Linked DNA regions of Homo sapiens: region 1 is linked to region 2. The links are contacts of gene promoters, found by promoter capture Hi-C in blood cells and fetal thymus (Javierre and others, 2016). All regions are on one chromosome and are shown on one strand. The core of a region is centred on a gene start or on the middle of the fragment in contact, and the rest is flanking DNA. Distances in the headings are between cores, read along the strand shown. Region 1 holds the start of NAP1L2 (nucleosome assembly protein 1 like 2). Region 2 holds the start of ERCC6L (ERCC excision repair 6 like, spindle assembly checkpoint helicase).

Region 1 (4,353 bases), core at 930-3,429, 980 kb before region 2:
ACAATCATGGCTCACTGCAGTCTTGGCATCCTGGGCTCAAACAATCTTCCTACCTAAGTCTCCCCAGTAGCTGGGACCACAGGTGTGTACCAACATGCCTGGCTATTTTTTATTTTTTATTTTTTTGCATAGATGGGAGTCTCACTATGTTTCCCAGGCTGACTTCAAACTCCTGGGCTCAAGTGACCCTCTCACATTGGCCCCCCATAGTGCTGGAATCATGGGTGTGAGCCACTGCATCTGGCCCGAGTTTCTTTTTTTTAAAAATGTTGTTGATTCATAATAATTGTAAATATCTATGGGATACATGTAATATTTTGATACATGCACAAAATGTGTATTGATCAAATCAGGGTAATTAGGACATCCATCACCTGACAAATAATAAGTATTTATCATTTCTTTGTGTTGGGAACATTCAAAATCTTCTTTTATAGCAATATTGAAATATACAATAAATTATTATGAACTATAGTCACCCTACTGTGCTGTTGAACACTAGAACTAATTCCTTCTATCTAACTGTATTTTGGTACCCATTAACTAACATTTCACTCCACTCTACCCATCCCAGCCTGATAATCATTATTCTACTCGCTATATGCATGAGATGAGTTTTTTAGTTCCCACATATTAGTGAGAACATGTGATATTCATCTTACTGTGCCTGGCTTATTTCACTTAACATAATGTTCTGCCGTTCCATCCATGTTGTTGCAAATGACAGAATTTCATTCCTTTTATAGCTGAATAATATTCCTTTGCGTGTATATGTCATACTTTCTTTATCTTTTCTTTTATTGATGGACATGGGTTGATTCCATATCTTGGGTCTTGTTAATAGTGCTGCAATACACATGAGAACGCAGAGATCTTTTCAATATACAGATTTTCTTTCTTTTGGACATGTAAGCAGCAGCGGGATTGCTGGACCATATGGTAGTTCTATTTTAAGCTTTTTGAGAAATGTTCATACTGTTTTCCATAGTGGCTGTACTAATTTACATTCCCTTCAACAGTGTATATGAGTTTCCTTTTCTTTGCATCCTTGCCAGCATTTGTTATTTATTTTTTGATAATAGTTATTTTAACTGGGATGAGATTATATCTCATTGTGGTTTTGATTTGCATTTCCCTGATGACTGGAAATATTGAGCATCATTTTTAATATACCTTGGCCATTCATTCATGTATCTTCTTTTCAGAAATTTGTATTCATATTTTTTACTATTTTTTAATCAAATTATTTGAGTTTTTTTCATTGAGTTGTTTGAGTTTCTTATATATTCTGGTTATTAATCCCTTGTCAGATGGATATTTTGAAAATATTTTTCCCATTCTGTAAGTTGTCTCTTTACCCTATTGTTTTCTTTGCTGTGCAGAAGCTTTTTAGCTTAACGTGTTCCCATTTGTCTACTTTTGCTTTTGTTGCCTGTGCTTTCGAGGGCTTAAAAAGAAAATATTTGCTCAGACCAATGTCCTAAAGCATCTTCCCAGTTTTGTCTAGTAGTTTCATAGTTTCAGGTCTTACATTTAAGTCTTTAGTTCATTTTTATTTGATTTCTGTATACGGTGAGAGATAGGGGTCCAGTTTTATTCTTTCTCATACAAATATCCAGCTTTCCCAGCATCATTTATTGAAGAGTCTGTCATTTCCCTAATGTATGTTTTCGGTGACTTTGTTGCAAATGAGTTGGCTGTAAATGTGTGGGTTTATTTCTGGGTTCTCTATTCTGTTCCATTGGTTTTTTGCGTCTGTATTTATGACAGTACCATGCAGCTTTGTAGTACATTTTGTCATCAGGCAGTGTGATGCCTCCAGCTTTGTCCTTTTTGCTCAGGATCATTTTGGCTATTTGGGATCTTTTGTAGTTTCATAAAAGTTTTAGGATATTGTTTTCTGTTTCTGTGAAGAATGTCATTGGTATTTTGATAGAGATTGCATTGAATATGTAGATTTCTTTGGGTAGTATAAACATTTTAACAATATTGATTCTTCTAATCCATAAGCATAGGATATCTTTCCATTTTGGGGTTCTCTTCATCTCTTTCATTAGTGTTTTTATAGTTTTTATTGCGTAGATCTTTCACTTCTTTGGTTAAATTTATTCCTAGATGTATTATTTTCTTGTAGCTATTGTAAATGGGATTGTTTTCTTGATTTTTTCAAATTGTCTGCTGCTGGTGTACAGAAATGCTACTAATTTATGTGTGTTGATTTTGCTTCATGCAAACTTACTTAATTTGTTAGTTCTAACAGTTTTTTTGTGGAGTCTTTAGGTTTTTCTAAATATAAGATCATGTCTTCTTTGAACAAGGATATAAATTAGCAACTTCCTTTCCAATATGTATGTCCTTTATTTTTTTCTCTTGCAAAATTGCTCTGGGTAGGACTTCCAGTACTATATTGAATATGGTCTTTAAAATATTTTTCTCTACACTTTATATTATGATAAAATATACATAACATAATATTTACCATTTTACCTATTTTTAAATCTACATTTCAGGAGCATTAAGTACAATCACACTGCTGTGAACCATCATCACCATACATCTCCAGAATATTTTCTTTTTCTTGAACTGAAACTCCATACACATTGAACAATAACTTCCTTTCCTCCCTACCCCAAGCCTCTGAAAACCATGTTTCTACTTTCTGTCTCTGTGAATTTGACTGCTCTAGATACCTAATTAAAGTAGAATCATACAATATTTGTTCTTTTGTATCTGGTATTTTCACTTAAAGGAAAAATTTATCTATAAACTGACAGAATTTAGAAATAAATACAACAATATGTAAACAGTTTTAATATCTGTGATAGTAACAAATTCTTTAAATCTGGAAAATAATAGTCACTTAAAATTTTAAAAAATTGTTCAATTAATAAATGATCCAAGTTAGAAATATGAACAAAATAAACCTCACCAATAATTACTATAGAGAGGAAATTTTAATTACTGCAAAGCTTTCCATCCTATAAATACATTATCAAATAGTTTAACCATTTCTTTAATGCTGAGATTTAGATTATTTCCAATTAACTCAAAAGCATCAAGCAAATGTTATGATTTCTAAGAATAAACATAACTTTCCATTTTGGCTTTTGTATATATGTATATTTCTAACGGCTGTTAAAGCCAGCATTAAGAAGGAGAAGCAGAAAGTCAGTATTGGGACTGGGGTTATTTATAAGCCAGGCAACTGGTTAATTGTGGTTAATTGTCTGGTATGTTTACTAGTCACGTAGTTGTATACACCATACTAGTTTTTCATCACAGGCCCTCATTCGCCCCCACTGCCATCGGACTTCCTCCTCCTCCCCTCACAGGAAATGTTTCGAGAATTTTTCAACCTAAAATCATATAGCTTGTGAAAAATACCGACAAACATAATATAGAATATTTAAATAACTGACACGCCACCTAAAGACCATCAGTGCTAATTCCTGGTGTTTTTAATCTTTGAAGCGTTTGTTTATCAGCTCTTCCACCATCCACCTCTCCCCTCCCCAGGTCCCCGATCTAAAATCAAAGAGATTGATTTAGGATGGGTGGGTGCCTTGTCTTCTCTCATTGTTCGACATTTTAGTTACGTTTTCTCTGAGCTCTCTGGAAAGCATAAAAGTATAATATCTGTTAAAAGTTGGATGAATGAACTAATGAACGCAATGGGATTCCAGAAAACTCTGCGGGAGATGGGCTAGAGGACGAGGAGGAGGTGGATGAATCAGCCATGTTAGAGAGCCTGGGAAGGTGAGCAGAGTTGAAAACTTGATAGATCTAATAATTTACTGGCTCTGGGTTTGTCAGTCACTACATTGCAGCAAATGAGATTAGAGCATAGTTGTGGGAGGGAAGGAGGTGACGCAGCAATCTATTTGCACCTAGAAATTTTAGGCAAGTGATAGCTGCGTAATCATACTGCGGCACCGTTTTTTTCTTGCAGCAGTAGCTGCTTGCGGAGGAGGTCTGCCCACTGCAGCTCTCTGCAGTCTCCGGCTCTCTCCTGCAGGATCGGTCAACGCAGCCGTCGCCGCCCTCTGCACCCAGCCCAGGTCGCCACTGCTTCAGTCCGGTTCTCAAAGCCTCAGCACCATCTTTTATCCCCGAGCAGCCTGGATCGTCGTTCCCTCAGTCCGGACGCCACTGCTAGGTCCGACCACCGCCGCTTCTGATATTTCGGTGAGTCTTTTCCTGTGGAGGTTTGGTCTCCCGATCTCTGTGGTAGCCACCTTAGGCGTGTACGGTCCTTTGAAAAATGGCCGAGTCAGAGAACCGCAAGGAGCTGTCAGAATCCAGTCAAGAAGAGGCTGGTAATCAGATAATGGTGGAAGGGCTCGGGGAACATCT
Region 2 (4,608 bases), core at 2,002-4,501:
GGGCAGGCAAGCCGAGTGTTGGTCCTTCCTTCCCGGTGATCAGGGCCTTTAGGCATCACTGCCAGCTGGGAAGCAGAGAGGAGGTAGCCGGGGTTCCTGAGGGAGTTCTCTTTAGCTTTTCTTCACAGCCCACAATGGGGCATGCCTACAACAACCACCAGGGGCCTGCTTTGCTTCATCTTCAGTTCTCAACAATTCCCCGGATATGAGCGATGATGGTGGACCCTGAGCCAAAGCACAACCAGACATGGCCTTCCCCAGACTCAAGATGAAGATTTTTGTGCTCTCATCTCTCTTTTCCTTTCTGCAGAATTCTCTCCTACATCTTCTCCCCTATTCTGCTCTTCTCATCCTACTCATCCTTTGGGTATCCAGGGCGCCTGGACTCTCAACTCATCCTTAGCTCCTTTGTGCTGCTATAATAAAATGCCATAGACTCAAACTCATATTTTTTTTTTTTGAGACGGAGTTTCGCTCTTGTTGCCCAGGCTGGAGTGCCAATGGCGTGATCTTGGCTCACCACAACCTCCGCCTCCCAGGTTCAAGTGATTCTCCTGCCTCAGCCTCCCAAGTAGCTGGGATTACAGGCATGTGCCACCATGCCCGGCTAATTTTGCATTTTTAGTAGAGACAGGGTTTCTCCGTCAGGCTGGTCTCGAACTCCCGACCTCAGATGATCTGCCCGCCTCAGCCTCCCAAAGGGCGGGATTACAGGCGTGAGCCTCCTCACCTGGCCATCAAACTCATAATTTATAAACAATAGAAATGTATTTATTATGGTTCTGGAGGCTGAAGAGTCCAAGATGAAGGTGCCAGCAGGATTGGTATCTGGTGAGGGCTGCTCTCTGCTTCCAAGATGGTGCCTTGTTGCTGCATCCTCTGGAGGGGAAGGAATAGTGTGTCCTTACATGGTAGGAAAGCAGAAGAGCAAAAAGGGCCTAAACTAGCTCCCTCCAGCCCTTTCATAAGGCACTAATTTATTCATGAAGTAGGATCCCTCATGACATTACTTGCTAAAAGGCCCCGCCTCTCAATGCCACCATGGTGGGGATTAAGTTTCAACACAAGAATTTTGAAGGACATTCAGACCATAGCACAGCCCAATCCAAGCTTGCCTCCAGGAAAAGATGTGATTCAAACACTTTAGCAGAGTAAACAAGTTCCTTCATAACCTGGCCTTCAACTGCCTCATCAACCTCATTTCCCGCCACTGCCCTCTTCTTTCCAGTGTGACACAGCGAAACGGCACAGATTTGTGTCCATATGGACCTAGTATTGAATTCTGGCTCTGCTGCTTCCTAGCTCAGGAAGCTTAGATGAAGTCAATTTATCTCTCTGAGCCTGTTTCCACATCTGAAAAATGTGGATAATAGTATACTAAAAGGCCTCTTAATAAAGGCCTTAAAGTCATACAAACCAGGAAAATAGCCCATGTTCTCCAAGATCCCCCACCTCCCCCCAACCCTTTTCTTTTTTTTGAGATGGAGTCTTGCTCTGTCGCCCAGGCTGGAGTGCAATGGCACGATCTCAGCTCACTGCAACGTCTGCCTCCTGGGTTCAAGCGATTCTTCCACCCCAGCCTCCCGAGAAGCTGGGATTACAGGCACCCGCCACCATGCCCAGCTAATTTTTGTAGAGACGGGGGTTTCACCATTTGGCCAGGCTGGTCTTGAACTCCTGACCTCAGGTGATCCGCCCGCCTCGGCCTCCCAAAGTGCTGGGATTACAGGTTCAGTGAGCCACTGAACCCGGCCTCCAACATTCCTTTTAACTCATAACGGTCTATAAATTTTATGAAAAGCTTAAAATTCTCTGGACATATGATGTATGACTGGGCCAATAGGTGAGTTTTCCAATACTGAATGCTAAATTAGTGTCTTGAGGAGTCATGTCTGTGTTCTTAACAGTATATGAACAAGGACAATTTTTGTTGGCCCACAACCTCCTATTTAGTGTCACCCAAGCAAGCCACTTAAACTCAATCACATTTCCTTAAGCTCTAGGCTCTGCCTTCTTTTTAGGCTCTGCATTTGAAAATGACTGTATCTTAGTTGGTGCTTCTGAAGAAATGATGACCACAGCACTACTTCTTTTTTTTTAAATTATTTTTGTCTTCCTTTTATTATACCAAGTATGTGAACCTAGTTACTTATTTCTTAAATAAGAACTTTAATTTTTTTTTTTTTTTTGAGATGGAGTCTTTCTCTGTCACCCAGGCTGGAGTGCAGTGGCATGATCTTGGCTCACTGCAGCCTCCACCTCCAGGGTTTGAGATTCTTGAAGACCCTTCTCTCTTTCTCTCTCTCTTTTTAAGAAAATAAATACAGCATAACGCCCTGTGGAGAAGAAAAAAATTTTTTTTAAAGAGACGGGAGTCTCACCATGTTGCCCAGGCTGGTCTCGAACTCCTAAGTGCAAGTGATCCTCCCACCTTAGCCTCCCAAAAGGCTAGGATAACAGGCGTGAGGCACTGCACCCAGCCTTTTTTTTTTTTTTTTTTTTTTTTGAGATGGAGTCTCGCTTTGCCACCCAGGCTGGAGTGCAGTGGTGCAATCCCGGCTCACTGCAACCTCCACCTCCTGGGTCCAAGCGATTCTCGTGCCTCAGCCACCCGAGTAGCTGGGACTGCGGGCGCCCGCCACCACGCCCGGCTAATTTTTTGTATTTTTAGTAGAGACGGGGTGTCACCATTTTAGCCAGGTTGGTCTCGAACTCCTGACCTCACGTGATCCGCCCGCCCCGGTCTCCCAAAGTGCTGGGATTACAGGCGTGAACCACCGCGTCTGGTCGCTTCTTCAATGTTAGTTTAAATCACAGGGACTATGCCTCCCAGGGTGTTTGAATTCAAAGCACGGTCAGTGCCAGGTACTGGCGATCAAGGAAGGGAAGATATCTGTGGATGCGGGGCAGGGTATGGTTGGGGGACGCAGGCGTTGGAGATCTCCAGGGGTCGCCGCAATGACTGGGATCATATCGGGCAGTCTCCTCCACTCACAATGATGGCACACGCACGCGCGAACGAATTGGCTGCAGCATGGTTTGAATTGGATTGAAACGCGAGGGATCACAGACTGAGGCAGCACACTCCGTGTCTCGAAGGCAGAGATCACCTTCTGCTTCCCGGCGCGCGTAGGCGCAGGCGCCCACCGTCATGGGCGGGGCTCAGGCGGAGGCGTCGCAGCGCGTGGTCGCGGATTGGCCGGCCGCGAGGCCGTCGGTTGGCTGTGTCCCTCTCCACGGCGCACAGAGCATGCGCGGGGCGGGAGTGAGCGAAATTCAAGCTCCAAACTCTAAGCTCCAAGCTCCAAGCTCCAAGCTCCAAGCTCCAAACTCCCGCCGGGGTAACTGGAACCCAATCCGAGGGTCATGGAGGCATCCCGAAGGTTTCCGGAAGCCGAGGCCTTGAGCCCAGAGCAGGCTGCTCATTACCTAAGGTATGTCTGGACCGCTGGGCGGGTCTAGCTAACCGACCTGGCCCAGGGTGGAGGTGGGGTGGCCCCCGGATCCTCCTGGGGACCCGAACTGTTGAGGCGGAGCCTTTTGAGACGCGCGCTCGCGCTCTTCTCGCAGTAGGGTGTGGGAGTCAGCTCTGGATGTTTGACCAGATTTCTAAAACCTGAGGAGACCCCGATGCCTCTTCTTTTGGGCAAATGACCCTCCAGTATGGTCTCCTTAAAAGCCAGAGGAGCCTTAATTAATCAAGCCCTTCTTGATTCTTTTCAGCTTATCAAGCCCTAAGTCTAGGGGATACAGAGATGAGTAAAACAAGGTCCCCGCCCCCAAATTGTTTGTAATCTAGTAGTGGAAACGGATCTGTAAAGCAATAATTACTAGGTTTGATAAGTGCTGTAAGAGGTATAATGTACGTGCAGGGCACAGTGTTGGCATAAAAGAGGGAATGGCCAACTACAAGGGTGGTCAGCTAAGGGATGGCGTGGCAAGAGGAGACATTTGAGCTAGGCGTTGAAAAATGAGTAAACATTCACCAGTTGGCTAAGGGTGGGGGGCGTGGTAATGTTGGGATGAGAATTTAAATTTTTTCTTAAATTGTGGTAAAGTACACATAACATAAATTTTATCTTTTTGTGCAGAAACTGGGTTTTATGAAAAATAAAGTTTATCATCCTAACCATTTTTAAATGTACAGTTCAGTAGTGTTGACTACATTCATATTGTTGTGCAGCCGTCCGTCATCTCCAGAACTTTTCTCATGTGGCAAAACTGAAACTACTCCCATTAAACAAACTCCCCATTTCCCCCTCCCTTCAGCCCCTAGCAACCATTATTCTGTCTCTGTGAATTTTACTGCTTTAATTTTTTTTGAGACAGGGTCTTGCTGTGTCGCCCAGACTGGAATTCAGTGGCCTGATCATAGTTCACTGCAGCCTCGAACTCCTGGGCTCAAGCAGTCCTCCTGCCCCAGCCTCCCTAGTAGCTGGGACTTAAGGTGGGTGCCACCATGTCCAGCCAATTTATTATTTTACTATTGTTGTTTTATATATATTTTTAGAGACAGGGTCTGGCTCTGTCACCCAGGCTGGAGTGCAGTGGCGCGATCTCTAACTCAGCTCACTGCAACTTCCATCCCCCGGGGCTCATGCGATCCTC

Evidence for each region. Contacts are between HindIII fragments. The CHiCAGO score rates a contact against its expected background, and 5 or more counts as called.
Region 1: a fragment that was not itself captured here is called in contact with the fragment with the promoter of ERCC6L in region 2 in 1 of 17 cell types (naive CD4 T cells); the score reaches 6.0 in naive CD4 T cells.

The regions. Positions count from the first base shown.
Region 1 is chrX:73,214,401-73,218,753 of GRCh38, reverse strand. It overlaps NAP1L2 (nucleosome assembly protein 1 like 2), which reads left to right and starts at 3,903. Exons shown (of 1, transcript NM_021963.4): 1 at 3,903-4,353. The coding sequence starts at 4,262. The HindIII fragment of the contact is 1,584 bases long and covers 1,388-2,971 here.
Region 2 is chrX:72,237,670-72,242,277 of GRCh38, reverse strand. It overlaps ERCC6L (ERCC excision repair 6 like, spindle assembly checkpoint helicase), which reads left to right and starts at 3,251. Exons shown (of 2, transcript NM_017669.4): 1 at 3,251-3,434. The coding sequence starts at 3,367. It also overlaps a transcript of PIN4 not described here. RefSeq lists an enhancer at 3,320-3,469. The HindIII fragment of the contact is 5,695 bases long and covers 1,804-4,608 here.